Regions from separate parts of the Homo sapiens genome. Here region 2 is linked to region 1. Evidence: promoter capture Hi-C in 16 types of primary human blood cells and fetal thymus (Javierre and others, 2016). All regions are on one chromosome and are shown on one strand. Each heading gives the region's core, a stretch centred on a gene start or on the middle of the fragment in contact. The rest is flanking DNA. Distances are from core to core; before and after follow the strand shown. Region 1 holds the start of ST7 (suppression of tumorigenicity 7). Region 2 overlaps ASZ1 (ankyrin repeat, SAM and basic leucine zipper domain containing 1).

The links. The method cuts DNA at HindIII sites, captures the fragments that hold promoters and counts their contacts. A CHiCAGO score of 5 or more calls a contact.
Region 2: a contact is called between a fragment that was not itself captured here and the fragment with the promoter of ST7 in region 1, in 1 of 17 cell types (endothelial precursors). The highest score is 5.7, in endothelial precursors.

Annotation. Positions count from the first base shown.
Region 1 is chr7:116,950,598-116,956,822 of GRCh38, forward strand. It overlaps ST7 (suppression of tumorigenicity 7), which reads left to right and starts at 2,904. Exons shown (of 16, transcript NM_001369598.1): 1 at 2,904-3,094. The coding sequence starts at 2,944. It overlaps ST7-AS1 (ST7 antisense RNA 1), which reads right to left and starts at 3,737. Exons shown (of 1, transcript NR_002330.1): 1 at 1,849-3,737. ST7-OT4 (ST7 overlapping transcript 4) reads left to right here and starts at 3,251. Exons shown (of 5, transcript NR_002329.2): 1 at 3,251-3,512; 2 at 3,864-4,082; 3 at 4,377-4,556; 4 at 5,826-6,126. RefSeq lists enhancers at 2,450-2,559, 2,975-3,898 and silencers at 2,820-2,889, 3,100-3,299, 3,360-3,659, 5,257-5,516. The HindIII fragment of the contact is 11,677 bases long and covers 1-6,225 here.
Region 2 is chr7:117,382,802-117,389,943 of GRCh38, forward strand. ASZ1 (ankyrin repeat, SAM and basic leucine zipper domain containing 1) reads right to left here. Exons shown (of 13, transcript NM_130768.3): 5 at 2,897-3,008; 6 at 1,925-2,059; 7 at 185-309. Among named protein-coding and RNA genes, the nearest start is that of ASZ1, 41 kb to the right of the region's middle. The HindIII fragment of the contact is 1,775 bases long and covers 1,350-3,124 here.

The DNA of each region.
Region 1 (6,225 bases), core at 1,654-4,153:
CCTTCCTTCCTTCCTTCCTTCCTTCCTTCCTTCCTCCCTCCTCCCTCCTCCCTCCCTCCCTTCCTTCCTCTCTCTTTCTCTCTTTCTTTCGACAAGGTCTCACCCTGGAGTGACTGGCACAATAACAGCTCACTAAAGCCTCAAACTCTCAGGCTCCAGTGATCCTCCAACCTCAGCCTCCTGAGTAGCTGGTAGTACAGGCACACACCACCACACCCAGCTAATTTTTAAAATCTTTTTGTACAGACAAGGTCTCCTTGTGTTGCCTGTGCTGTTCTCAAACTCCTAGACTCAAGTGATTCTCCCACCTCGGCCTCCCAAAGTTTTGGGATTACAGGCGTGAGCCATCTACTTCCTTAATATTTCTTAAATCTCCACTTAAATAAATCTCTGAGTTGGTCATTTGGATTGGTGTGTGCAATGCCCCATAACTATGAACACCTTAGCGTTTCTAGTAGGCCCTTCAAAATGACTCAGGCCTGTATCTTTAGCTTTGTCTGTATCCACACCACTCTGCAGAGGCTGCACTCCAGCTATACTGAAGCAGCCACAGTTTGCAAGAGATTATGCTTACTCACTTCTGTTTTGAAGTGTTTTGAAGCACAAAGGCATGTGTACAGTCCCCACCACATGCCAGGATGCACACCAGGAGAGGCAATGATATAGGGCTGACTTCCCAGGAGCGCCTAGTAGAAAATTAGAAGATTGTGACTTAGCGGAGTCATATTCATGTCCATTCATTGAAGTTCATTGACAGCAAAAAGCCAGGCCTCCGGATGTTCATTTAAATTAAGTAGTCAATATCCTAATTCAGTGACTCGCAGAGAATCTGGTGGGTTATTTAATCATCACATAAAATAGGTGGTTCATGTACTCATGTTGAGGCAGGAGACTAGGTTCTGGAGGCAGGGAAACTAAGGACTTCCTTGAACTACATTGAAAGGAAAACCCTAACTTTCCACGCCTAAGTAACAAAAGGACCAGAGGCTACCTTTGACCTTTTCTGCCTAGTAGATGGGAAATTGGCTGTCTGTAACCAATCAGACTGACTGCGGGTCCAATCTTCATTTGCAACTTTGTAACTTCACTCCAGCCTCTGAATGGTTGTTGTCCACAACTAATCAGACTGTGGGCGAGTCTTCGTTTGCATAGAAGCATAACTTCATTAAGTACATCCCAGCCTCTGATTGGTTGTTTTTTGCAACCAATCAGATGTTTGCACAGGAGTGTTACCTTTGTATCTTCATTTCAGCCTCTGGTTGGCTGCTTTCTGCAACCAGTCAGACTGATTGCGGGCTACCACTTCATTTACGTGAGATGAGCATGAGTTGCCAAAGGGAAACTTCTTGGGGGTATTTGGACCCAAGAAGATTCTGTATTCGGCCTTTGAGCCGCTGCTCCGCCCGCTCCCACAATGTAGAGTGTACTTTCGTTTTCAATAAATCCCTGCTTTCGTTCTTTTGTCGCTTCTCTGGGTGTTTTGTCCAATTCTTTGTTCAAAACGCCAAGAACCTGGACAACCTGCAGTCACGATCCTTTACTGGTGACAATATTGTTTTATTTTACTGAGATTCCATGTATCAGTGTTAGACACAAAAATCATTTGGTCATGTGCTGCCATAAATAACTATAAAGAAAGTCTATGTGTGCCAATTTCACTTATTCTGGCCTGGATCTCACTGTAGTAGATCAAATGTGAGGAAGAAACAGTAGCCGAGAGAGGCTGGAATTAGTAAAAATTTAAGAGTAGTTCCATCCATTATGTATGCCGTAATAGGCCCTATATGTGAAAAGTTAAAGGAGCTTATTTAATTATGAAGGAAACTATTATACAAGTAAGCAAAACAATTTATAATAAAATATTCTTTATGCTCAGAATTTTAAAAATAGATGTAGACTGGAAAACCTGCAATTTCCTCATTACCATCTAATACATAGAAAGTCAAATCACTTACGGACAGAAACAGACTTGAAAATTTCAGCTGAGAAAACATTTTAGAATAAAAGAAACATTTTATTCAGCACAGTCAAAACAAAACAAAAACAACAAAACAATGTTTAAAATGGACTTTCTGTTAGAGGTGGCCGTTTCACAGTCAAAATTATCCCAGAGAATTGTTTATATTAAAAACAGGCTGAGAATAGTTTGACCTCTGATCACCAAAAAACCTGGAGGATAAACATTCATCTGTCAAGATTTCTCTGGAAAATCCCTGCGCTGCTTCAAAGAGACAGAACAAAGGTAAATAGCATCTGCCACCCAAATCTTGCTGAATAGAGTGATTTATCTTCAGGCCTACTAGCCGGCGACAGGAGCGCACCTCCTCCCTTCTCCTAGCTGTCCCGGGTTTATTCATTCCCTGAGCCTGAATCCTGATAAGGGAGCAGAGTAGGGTTTAAGACCTCGGACCCCAGAATACACCACTGCAATTGAATTTTGGTTCCACCTTAAGGTAAACTACGCAGCTGCTGTGAGCCTCAGTTTCCCTACCTATAGAAAGAGGATCGTAGTGGGGAATTGTTGCAGGGGTTAAATGAGATTGTACGGATCGTGGAGCAGCGCCTGGCGTGTGGTAAACGCTCAACTTATGCGGGTTGTAACTGCCTGAGGCGTTTCCTTCGGCGCGCCACTTGGCCTTCTCTTTCTAAATATTAGCATAATAAATATAAATGGACCCAGAACGCGAGGGGGCAGGGGCCACGTGATCGCTCCACGAAAGCCACTTGTAGGGACCTTTAGAGAGTTAGCAATAAGGCTGGAGAAGGAAAAGCCGGCGCGCCCGCGGCCCGCGCGATTTCCCGCCGAGCCCGCGTCCCCGGCGGCGGGCGGGCTCCGGGGGCGCCCGGGCCGCGGCGGCGGCGGCGGCGCGAGCTGCGCCTCCGGGCCGGTGAATCATCCCGGCAGACACCAAGAGCCGCGGCAGCAGAGAGGAGCGCTGAAACATGGCTGAAGCGGCCACGGGCTTTCTGGAGCAGCTCAAGTCCTGCATAGTTTGGTCTTGGACGTATCTGTGGACCGTGTGGTTCTTCATCGTGCTATTCCTGGTCTACATCCTGCGGGTGCCTTTGAAAATCAACGACAACTTGAGCACAGGTAAGGCCTGGGAGCCGGGCCCGCGGCGCCCACCCCTCCCCCGCCCCGGAAAGTTAGTGCAACTCGCGCGGGGCCGCGGCCAGGCGCGCGCTCGGGGACGCGCCGGGGCCCGCGCACCGGAGGCCCGCGGCTACCCGCCAGCAACGCGGCGGCTTAGGCGGCGGGGCCGGGCAGCTGGGCGCGCGGGGGCGGCCGGTGGCCTTCACGGCCCCGCGGAGGAAGAGCTGCGCCGCGCACAGCCCGCAAGGCGGGCCGGGCCGGGCCGGCAGCCGCCCTGCTGCGTCGCTGGTGGTCGGGAGACGGAGAAGAACGGGTGTCGCGGGCGAAGGAGTTCCCAGGACACCCCCTCGGGTGTCTGCGCCGGAACTCCGAGGGTTCCCCGGAGTTAGACCGAGTCCTTCCTCACGCCCTCCCGGCTGTGGGTGCCAAGCGGCCGAAGTGTGGTCGGGGAGGCGCCCTCCCGCCCGGCCGCGGAGGCCCGAGGGCGGCTGCCGGAGGGTGCTCGGCGGCGAAGCCCCCTGACCCGGCCGGGCTGTCCGGGCGGCGCCCTCCGTGGCCCGGAGTTGCGTCTTGCCGGGCGTGGGGCTGTCTCTCTGGTTGGGTAGTGGGGAGAGGGGTTCCCGAAGGCACTCTTGGGAGTGTATGGATGACGTGTCAGGTCACCAAATGGATTGTCGAAGGGACCGGAGGGAAGAGGGGAGAGCTGGAATTTCTGAGGGTTTCGGTTGCAGTTTTCAGTGATCTTTGCTCGTCTCCCTTCCCTGTAAAGCTACATATGCTCAGCAAGTGCCGCGTGCCTCCCATCCTTGGTCGGTGGTAAATGCAGGAGGTAATTAACAGGATCTTCACAAACTTGGAGCCAGCCCACTGAGTCGTTAAAAAAACACCCGCAAAGAAAACACACGAGCCTTAACACTCCAGAGAGTTCCGAAACACAAAGTAAATTTCGAGCTAAGGGTTACAGTCCTTTAAATCTGGAAATTTCAAGGTAGAGTGTTTTTGTTTTTGTTTTAAATTTTAATTTCACAGTACTGGGAAATTCTTACAGTCCTGAAGATATATACATATGTACACATATATATCTTCCCTTGTTAATCTCCATACTCTGGGAGTGCAAGTCTGGAAATGCATTTTCCTCAGGTGTTTAGCTGCATTAAAACGCTTTTTAAAACGCTTGAGATAATGTACTCATTTTGTTAGGAAACTTGTACCTTTCAGATACTAACTTAAGTATTTTGATTACTAACTTGAACTCATGTTCATATTTACATTTGTTTTGTAGTATCCCTCGGGATCGTGTCCCTGGGAGGCGGATAGGATTCAGCACTCTAGAATTGTCTCACCATTTGAATAGGTGCTGCTCAGCCCTTTTGAGTCTGTCATCGGAAAGACCATGGCTTTCTCGCTTTTCATCTTTTTGGATGGCTGCTTGTCGCAATATTGTCTTCTTCGCTTTAGACAAGTATGTCTCCAGGATACCTTCTGGTCTCAAAGTTCTATACCTTTAAGAAGTTGTTTGAATATATGTTTTAATGGAATTACGTATTTGTTGGTAACAGTGTTAGTCTGTTTTGTGCTGCTGTAACAGAATACCACAGATTGGGTAATTTTTAAAGAACACATTTTATTTCTTGTAGTTCAGGAGTCAGGGAAGTCTTGAGATCAAGGGACTGGCATGTGGGGAGGTCCTTCTTGCTGTCATCCCTTGGTGGAAGGTGGAAGGGTAAGAGAACATGAGAAAACAAGAGGGGGCCCACTTTCACTTTTATAACAAACCTACTCCCTCAATAACAAAATTAATTCATTCTTGAAGGCAGAGCCTTCATGACCTAATTACCACTCACAGGTCCCACCTTTCAACACTTTTGCACTTGGGATTTTCAAACACACTAGTTTTTAAAATATTAATGTTTCTCCTTATTACACACTTAAAATTTTATTTCATGATATACATTTGTATATCACATTTTCATCAGGTTAAATAATTACCCATGTATATATGTGTAAGTGTCACATCCAGTGCTCTGTGCAGATCAGGCAAGAAGCAAAATATCTACTGGGAAAATGTGTACTTCTTAAGGAAGGGCATTGTTAGGTCTTCTAGCAATTTAAATCTAGCATTTCTCAGAGATGCCTTTGTTAATTTGTGTAGGGGCAGTTCTAAGAGATAGCGAAAATATGAAGATGAACGTGCCATCCGGGCTGTACCTTGCTAGACACATGATAGAAGACCTGATGATGCTGGACTTTTCAGTTTGGTTTCATGCTCATTTCAGTCATAAAGAAAGATAAAAGGGGAAGCACACAGAGAGCACTCACCTCTCTGCTGTTTTTATGAGAGGGTAGCAGGATCTGGGGTGGGAGGAGGACTTTGGCATTAATTTTGAGACATGAAATTATAGCCACAAACCACCCTAGAACAGTTTAGGTTTTTCAAAAAACAGTTGCAGACATTAGAGGCCTATTTTCTTCCCTTTTAAGTAACAGTGAGAAGTTATAGTAGGAAAACTGCCAAAAGGTTGTTGTCAACTTAATTCCCTCCTTTCCTTGCCAATTCCCCTCCCCTTTGGGAAAAAGTTTCTGTACTGAAGTTATTGGCAAGGAAGGCCCAGGGAGAAAGAAGTCATTAGCCAGCACCCCTGAGAGGGGAGGCAGGAGCTAGCCTGGTCTAACTTGTCCTTGCAGGGAGGTCTAAAAGAGTTCTAACGGGACTAACTTTGCTGTTCTTCAGCCCTGTGGTGCTTACTCTTCCTGTGATGAAGGCAAGTGTGTTCCTGGAGAGGTTACTGAATCTGGAGCTGCTTTTAGGGAGTTGCAGATGGCGCAGGCCTCCCTTCCTCCTCAAGGAAGCCAAAGACACCATCACAATCAGGCAGCCAGGAGCCAGGGCTTCCATAGGCCCAGCTCTGTACCTGTAGGGGGATGGAATCTGCTAAAAGTGTTCTGGAGTCATTCTTGGATATCTGCTTGGTATCTTCTCAATATCTTGACCATCTGTGACAATTTTAATCCTCATTTGATCATATTTTATGGTAAATGAGCTTAACTCGATTTTTTTTTAATTTAGATGCCTCCTAATGTACTATAACAGGTGCTATGATAAGAAAGATGAATGAGTTTGTAAAACCCAG
Region 2 (7,142 bases), core at 987-3,486, 430 kb after region 1:
TAGTACATAAAAATGAATAAAAATTTTCTAAAATTCTGGAGAACACTAAAAACCCAGACATTTAAAAATGCTTGTAAACATTTAAAATATCATATATTTTAAATAAGTCACCACATTTACTACAATAAAATATACACAAATTTTACTTATAGGTATTCTGTTGAACTAAAACATGCTATATTACCTAAAAATGTGATCTTTTTCTCTATCAGAATCTGTTGTCAATATTTTACAAATAGTGTCTTCTTTAGTTAGCTGTTGAAGTTTTCCTTCCAATGGATTTAAAGTAAAAGAAAGTAAGTTGAAGATCTGAAAAAAGTTAACATCATTCAAATATAATTAACATTGCATACTGTAACTTACACTTAAAAGAAACTGAACATACGATTATCTCATATCCAGAAAGGAAATTTTAGCAAGTAAGTGGGACAGATGTTTCACAATTTACTACCCTGATAACAACTTTTAAAAAAATGATATATCACAGTTGTATATATTTTGGGGGGTACATGCGATATTTTGATACACATATACAATGTATAATAAACAAATCAGGGTAATTGGGATATCTAAGTGCTTCCTTAACCTACAATAATCAGAAAAGAAAAAAGTACATCTAATTCAAAATAGTAAAAATTAAAGGAAGATAGTAATTAATATTTTTGGTAAGATACATAGCGAAACTAAAAATTCCATTTGGATAAATGACTCAGATTAAATATTAAGATAGTACTTTAAAAACATTGCTAAGTGGCAAGAGAGTAATGAGCATGACTAAATGTATACAAATCCTAACTGAACACCTCAAAAAGATATGGTGAAATTCCTGAGTTTTAAAATCTAACCTCTCAGGAAGTCAAGGTTATATCACATACTCAGCCAAAATACAAGATCAAATCTCATTTCAATAAATGATTTATGACTCAAAATAACCTTTGATGTTCATAAACTTCTTATGTCAAGTTTGGTGTCATCTACTCTACATTTAACAATGTAATAAAATAATTTTAAGTTTTTGAATTTTCAAAGTTTGGAAGAAAAATGGTAAATTCCTTTTTGAAATTCTACAGGGCTGTAGTGATTACTGTTTATCCTATAAAAATTCTGAAAATATTAGAATAATATTTGGAAAATGATAGCCATGTTTATCAGATTGCTTAAAAGGTTAGAGGAAGTTACTTTATATGCAGTAAAAGTGGCTTGGTTTGATGATTACATGACGGAATCTTTGGAATTTTACGTGCTTTCAAATTCGGGAACTCAGTGTTACAAACTCTTGAACTAAACAACTTAGTTTTATAATTGTACTATACTTGATCCTTGCTTAGAAGTTACAGACTTGTGGCTAAAGCTTTAATCTTCAGACCAAAAGTTTATATTGATAAAGTAATTTAATGTATGGCAAGTATTTATTATTGAGTTTAACATCTGAATGACAGATTATACATCCAGGTATATTATCACTTTATCGTAAGCCCTGTCACACATATAAGAGCAAATGTTGTTTAAGGAATTTAATTTTTAAATTGTTTAATACATTAATTAAACTTACAAAAGAATGTTTGAGTTACATGTTCAAACTGGCATTTTACTAGCTTTCACTAAATTACTTTTAAAATTCTGGACCAGTTTAAAATGTTTAAATAGTATATTACAATTTTATTCCTGGGGCCAGAATAAGATTTTATTACTCTTTTATAGAGCTTTTAAATTACTATAAGTGCTTCTTGTTTCATAGAAGATGAATACTCTAGCAAAATAAAGTTCTCATTACCTGGCTGGAGGAAAGATACATATTTAAACATTTAATAATTGCCAGATACACTATAATTACACTTTTAATTCTAACAGAATAATACAAAAGTTCTACAAATGATAATGTGATATGCCACAGAAAATAAGTTTAATATGTACAGAAGGATACCTCATGATGTTTGTTTCTTTTTGCAATCTCACTTGGCATCTTTCCATCTTTGGTTTGTAGCATTTTATTAGCTCCAAGTTCAAGCAACTTCAAAACTATATTTTTATGACCCTGACGTGCTGCCCACGTTAAAGCCTGTAAGTAGGGGGAAAAGAAGATTGTTTAAAGAGAAGGAGTGTATATGAGACAGACAGGAAAAGTTTTCAACAGTATTTATGACACAATAAAAAAGAGAACATAGTTAATTAATGGAATGATGCAATCTCTTCATTTTACAATATAATGTAAACATATTTCCAAAGTTGTAATTGCAAAGCTGACTGCAAAGCTCATTGATTTTTTAAAACCAGTGTTTTATACAATTAACTGATGTTAAGGAATAAAATGATTTATTTGCCAATCACTGAAGGGTTTTCTACAAAAAATAATTCTTATGTATATTTTAGAGCCCAGATTTTGCTGTGTGTTACAATTTTTTTTTTTAATCAAGAGTAAGGACTACGAGAGTCAGTTAATTCCTCATTTCTATTTCTTTTCTTTTCTTTTTTTTTGAGATGGAGTTTCGCTCTTGTTGCCCAGGCTGAAGTGCAGTGGTGCGATCTTGGCTCACTACAACCTCTGCCTCTTGGGTTCAAGCGATTCTCCTGCCTCAGCCTCCTGAGTAGCTGGGATTAAAGGCACGTGCCACCATGCCTGGCTAATTTTTTGTATTTTTAGTAGAGACAGGGTTTCACCATGTTGGCCAGGCTGGTCTCAAATTCCTAACCTCAAATGATCCGCCTGCCTCGGCCTCCCAAAGTGCAGGGATTACAGGTGTGAGTCACCATACCCTTCTATTTCAACTGTTGCTTTTTTTCACCAGATAGCAATTATATTCCAGCCCTTTTGTAATTATTACTTCTTAAAATTCTTTTTTTGTAGATTACTGATAATAACAGAAACAAAAAGAAACATTGTAAAAATGTTTCTCACAGTGTAACCATTCTCATCCTGGGTATTAACTTCTGCTCCATGAGCAACAAGGAGAGCAACAACCTGGGTGTGACCATCTCGAGCAGCATACATGATTGGGGTCATAAGTCTCCTAAGGAGGAGGAAGAAAGGAAACATTTGTGTTAATGCTGCCATTAATCTCTCATTTTCATTAATTTAACCATACACAATACCACCAGTACTGCTTTGAAAACGAAAAGAAATGAAAGCTTTTGCTAAATCAGGTGATTTAAAAATCCAACCTTCCTGCAAGTAAGTACAAGTGAAAGAGATGACACTTTTAAAGTGCTGAATGCTTACACAGCACCCTCTAGTGAATAAATGTATTAAAAATACATGAAATAAGCCACGCTTTCTACTATGAAGTTCACTAATATACATATTCATCTAGAAAATTATCAGTGTACCCACACTATGCTTATGCTAGGAATATAGTAATGAATGACACAAATAAGGTCCCTGCCCTCAAAGGATTTGCTAATACTAAATGCTTATTACATTTTATTTAGAGGATTGCTGAAACAAAAATGTAAATTTAAAAACTTCATTCCTTAATGTATTCTATTATGATTCTACTTTAGTCTGAGACTGAAAGAATTTTATTCTGACTGGGAGACTTACTATATATAATTAGAAAAGAGATAAGTCCAATAGATTAACCAGCTTAATATTCTCTTAAGAGTACTTTCTGGGAGAGGATAGTGGTTTCTCTGTAGTTTATCATTTCCCAAAATTAGAGATTCAATCCTTCTACTCCTGGAAGTTAGTCACCTTCTGGGCCTATTCCAAGGACACCAGATTTTATCAGCTCTACTTGGGCTGAACATAACATCATGGTCTGTTTTAAAGGAGGTCTGAGACTCTGAGCCCAATTTTCCTGAGTCGTCCTCAAGATCTGATTTATACACAAAGAACTTTGGAAAAGAAAAATAAATAATTTCAGAGTTCCATGTTTTGATCTTACCAAGAAAGTTTTTATTGGTTATTCACATTACATATACAACCTACCAATAGACTATTTCTCTGTAAGGTTTGTTAGCATAAGGTTATACCCTGAAATCTGAACACTTCACACCTATGTCCTTGTTAGCACAATTCATATATATCTGTTTCTTATATTTCATGGTATATTATAATTTGAATGTTTTATGTGAAATTATATGCTAAATCAGTTGTAAAAGATTGCCTCCTCTACCTTGAATATCCCTTACATAGTGGCTTCATTAGATAGACAATCTTTATGAGGTAAAGATTGAATTTCCTGGATAACTTAAGCAAACATAAAAAAATATATACAACTAGCCAGGTGTGGTGGCTCAGGCCTGTAATCTTACCACTTGGGGGGCTAAGGCAGGTGGATTGCTTGAATCCAGGAGTTCGAGACCAGCCTGGGCAACAGAGGAAAGCCCTGCCTCTACCTCTACTTAAAAAAAAAAAAAAAAAAAAATTAGCTGGATGTGGTCTGCACAACTGTAATCCCAGCTACTTCAGAGGTGGGAGAATCACCTGAGCCTGGGAGATCAAGGCTTCAGTGAGCCGAGATTGTGCCACTGCACTCCAGCCTAGGCAACCAGAGTGAGACCCTGTCTCAACAACAACAACAACAACAACAACAACAACAACAACAACGCCACCCAAAACCCCCACATACACACATACGTGGCAACAACAAATTATTTGAATTAACCATTCGAATTCAAATTCTTCATTACATCTAAATCCGAACTGTTGATGTCTCATCTCCACTGCACTTACCTGCATAATAACCCAAATCTGCTCCTCTCAGTCTTCCCTATTTCATAAAGCCACCATTAACCACATTACTCAGGCTTAAGACTAGGCATAATTCATGACTCTTCTCTGTCATTCCAAGTACAAGTCACCGGCAGCTCCTATTAGCCCTGCCTTCATAATCTGCTTCTGATCACTTTTCATCACCTCATTAGCCACTGCAGTGGTCCAAGACAACATCATCTTTCTCTGATTTATATTGCCATAGTCTCATAACTGCTCTCCTCCATGCTTCCATTCTTGGCCACTTACAGTTTATTGTCTTTGAAAATGCCAAGATCTCCCCTTTGCAGGAACTGTGCAAGTGCTCTTGCCTGTCCCCAGACCTTCATATTGCTAACTCCTTATTCTTATACAGATCCTTATTAAGAGAAGATCAGTAAAATTTTCAAACCTCTAGCTAGACTGATTAAGCAAAACAGAGAGAAGAAACAAGTTACCAGTATCAAGAACAAGAGAAGTAACATCAGTACAGATTATCCAGATTTTAGAAGTATGAGGAAGTATTATGAACAAATTTATGCCAATAAATTAGACAGTTTAGATGAAATGGATAAATTTCTCAAAATACACAAGCTACCACAGCTCACTCAAAAAGAAATAACCTGAATAGCCCTAGACTTATTTTTTAAAAACTTAATTAGTAATTATAAATTAAATTAAATTTTCCACAAAGAAAACAGCAGGCCAGATGGCTCCACTGGTGAATTCTACAAAACAGTTAATGAAAACAACATCAATTCTAAACAAACTCAACCAGTAAACTAAAGAGGGGAAGATGCTTCCCAACTCATTCTATGAAGCAAAATTACTCTTATACCAAAACCAGAGGGTGCCATTATAAGGAAAGAAAACTATAAACCAATAATCTTCACTGAAAATAAAAATGTTTTAAACAAATTTTAACAGAATCCAAAAATACATAAAAAGGTTAATACATCATGACTACAGGCAATTATCCTAGGAATGCAAGGCTGGTTTGATATTTGAAACATCAATCAATATAATGTACCATATTAACAAACTAAAAATGAAAAAAAACCCTCAACAAATGCAGAACAAGTATTTTACAAAATCCAACATTTATTTCTAACAAAAACACTCAGCAACATAGGAATAGATGAGAACTTCCTCAACCTGACAAAAGCATCTATGGAAAATTTACAGTTAACATCATATTTAATGGTGAAAGAGTACTTTCCCCCAACATCAGAAACAAGACAAGGATGTATGCTCTCACATTTCTACCCAACATTGTATTGGAAGTTCTAGCCAGCGGAACAAGACAAGGAAAAAGAAAAATGGTAGGCCTCCAGATGGGAAAAAAAGCAAAATTGTCTTTATTCACAGACAGCATGATGTATATAGAAAACCTGATGGACTCCACAAAAAAAGTACTAGAACTAATGAATTTGGCAAGGTTACAGCATTCAAGAGAAATATTTAAAAAATCAATTGTATTTCTTCATGCTAGCAATGAACAACATGAAATGAAAATAAAACAATACAACTTAAGTAAAAATATAAAAGCCAGGAAATCTATTGCTGTTTATTAGAAATGCACCTAGTATTTGCATATATGCATATATAAATACAGGGTGATGGTGATGTATTTGAATATATCTGACTTACAGTTGTCTAAGTAACAATTTGGATCCAGAAGTCTTTTTTTTTTTTAAGATTCAGGAGGTACACGTTAAGGTTGGTTAATGGGTATATTGTGTGTTGCTGAGGATGAGGTTTGGTCTTCTATTAATCCCACCACCCAAGTAGTGAATATAGTACCTAATAGGTAGTTTTTCAACCCTTGACCCCTCCTTGCCTCCTCCCCTTTGGATTCTCTAGTGTCTATTTTTAACTGAGCATCCCAGCCTCAAAATGCATTTTAAAACTTTTTTTCCTTTCTTGTTTTCAGCTTTGAAACATATTTTGAAATGCTTTGTTTCTACTTTTCCCACCAGGCACTTCAATGAACAGTGCTTGCTTATCTAATTATGTGCTTGCTTAGGTAATCCAGGGGCCAATTTTGAAACAAACCAGGCAGAGAGATACAGCTCCCACTTAGGGGTAGTTATGAACAGTTAACCTACCACTACCAGGCCAAAGTCAGGATGAGGCAAACCAGACCTTCTGGACAGGCAATTTCTCAAGATAACCATTGAAACAAGTCATGCAGACCTGCACCCTCGGGCAACACTCCTGCATATTTCCCACACCTTTTCCTTCTTAAACCCCTTCATTTAGCCCAAAAAGTTGGAATGGTCTTTTGAAGGCATGAGCCTGGCCATTCTCCAATTGCTAGCATTTGATAAATAAAATTACTTTCCTTTCACCACATCTCGTTTCTCCTATTCTTGGTTTATGGGCAGCCAGCAGCTGGACTTGAGCAAGTTACCTATTGTTTTCATCTTTATATGCATGTGTACCCAATGGG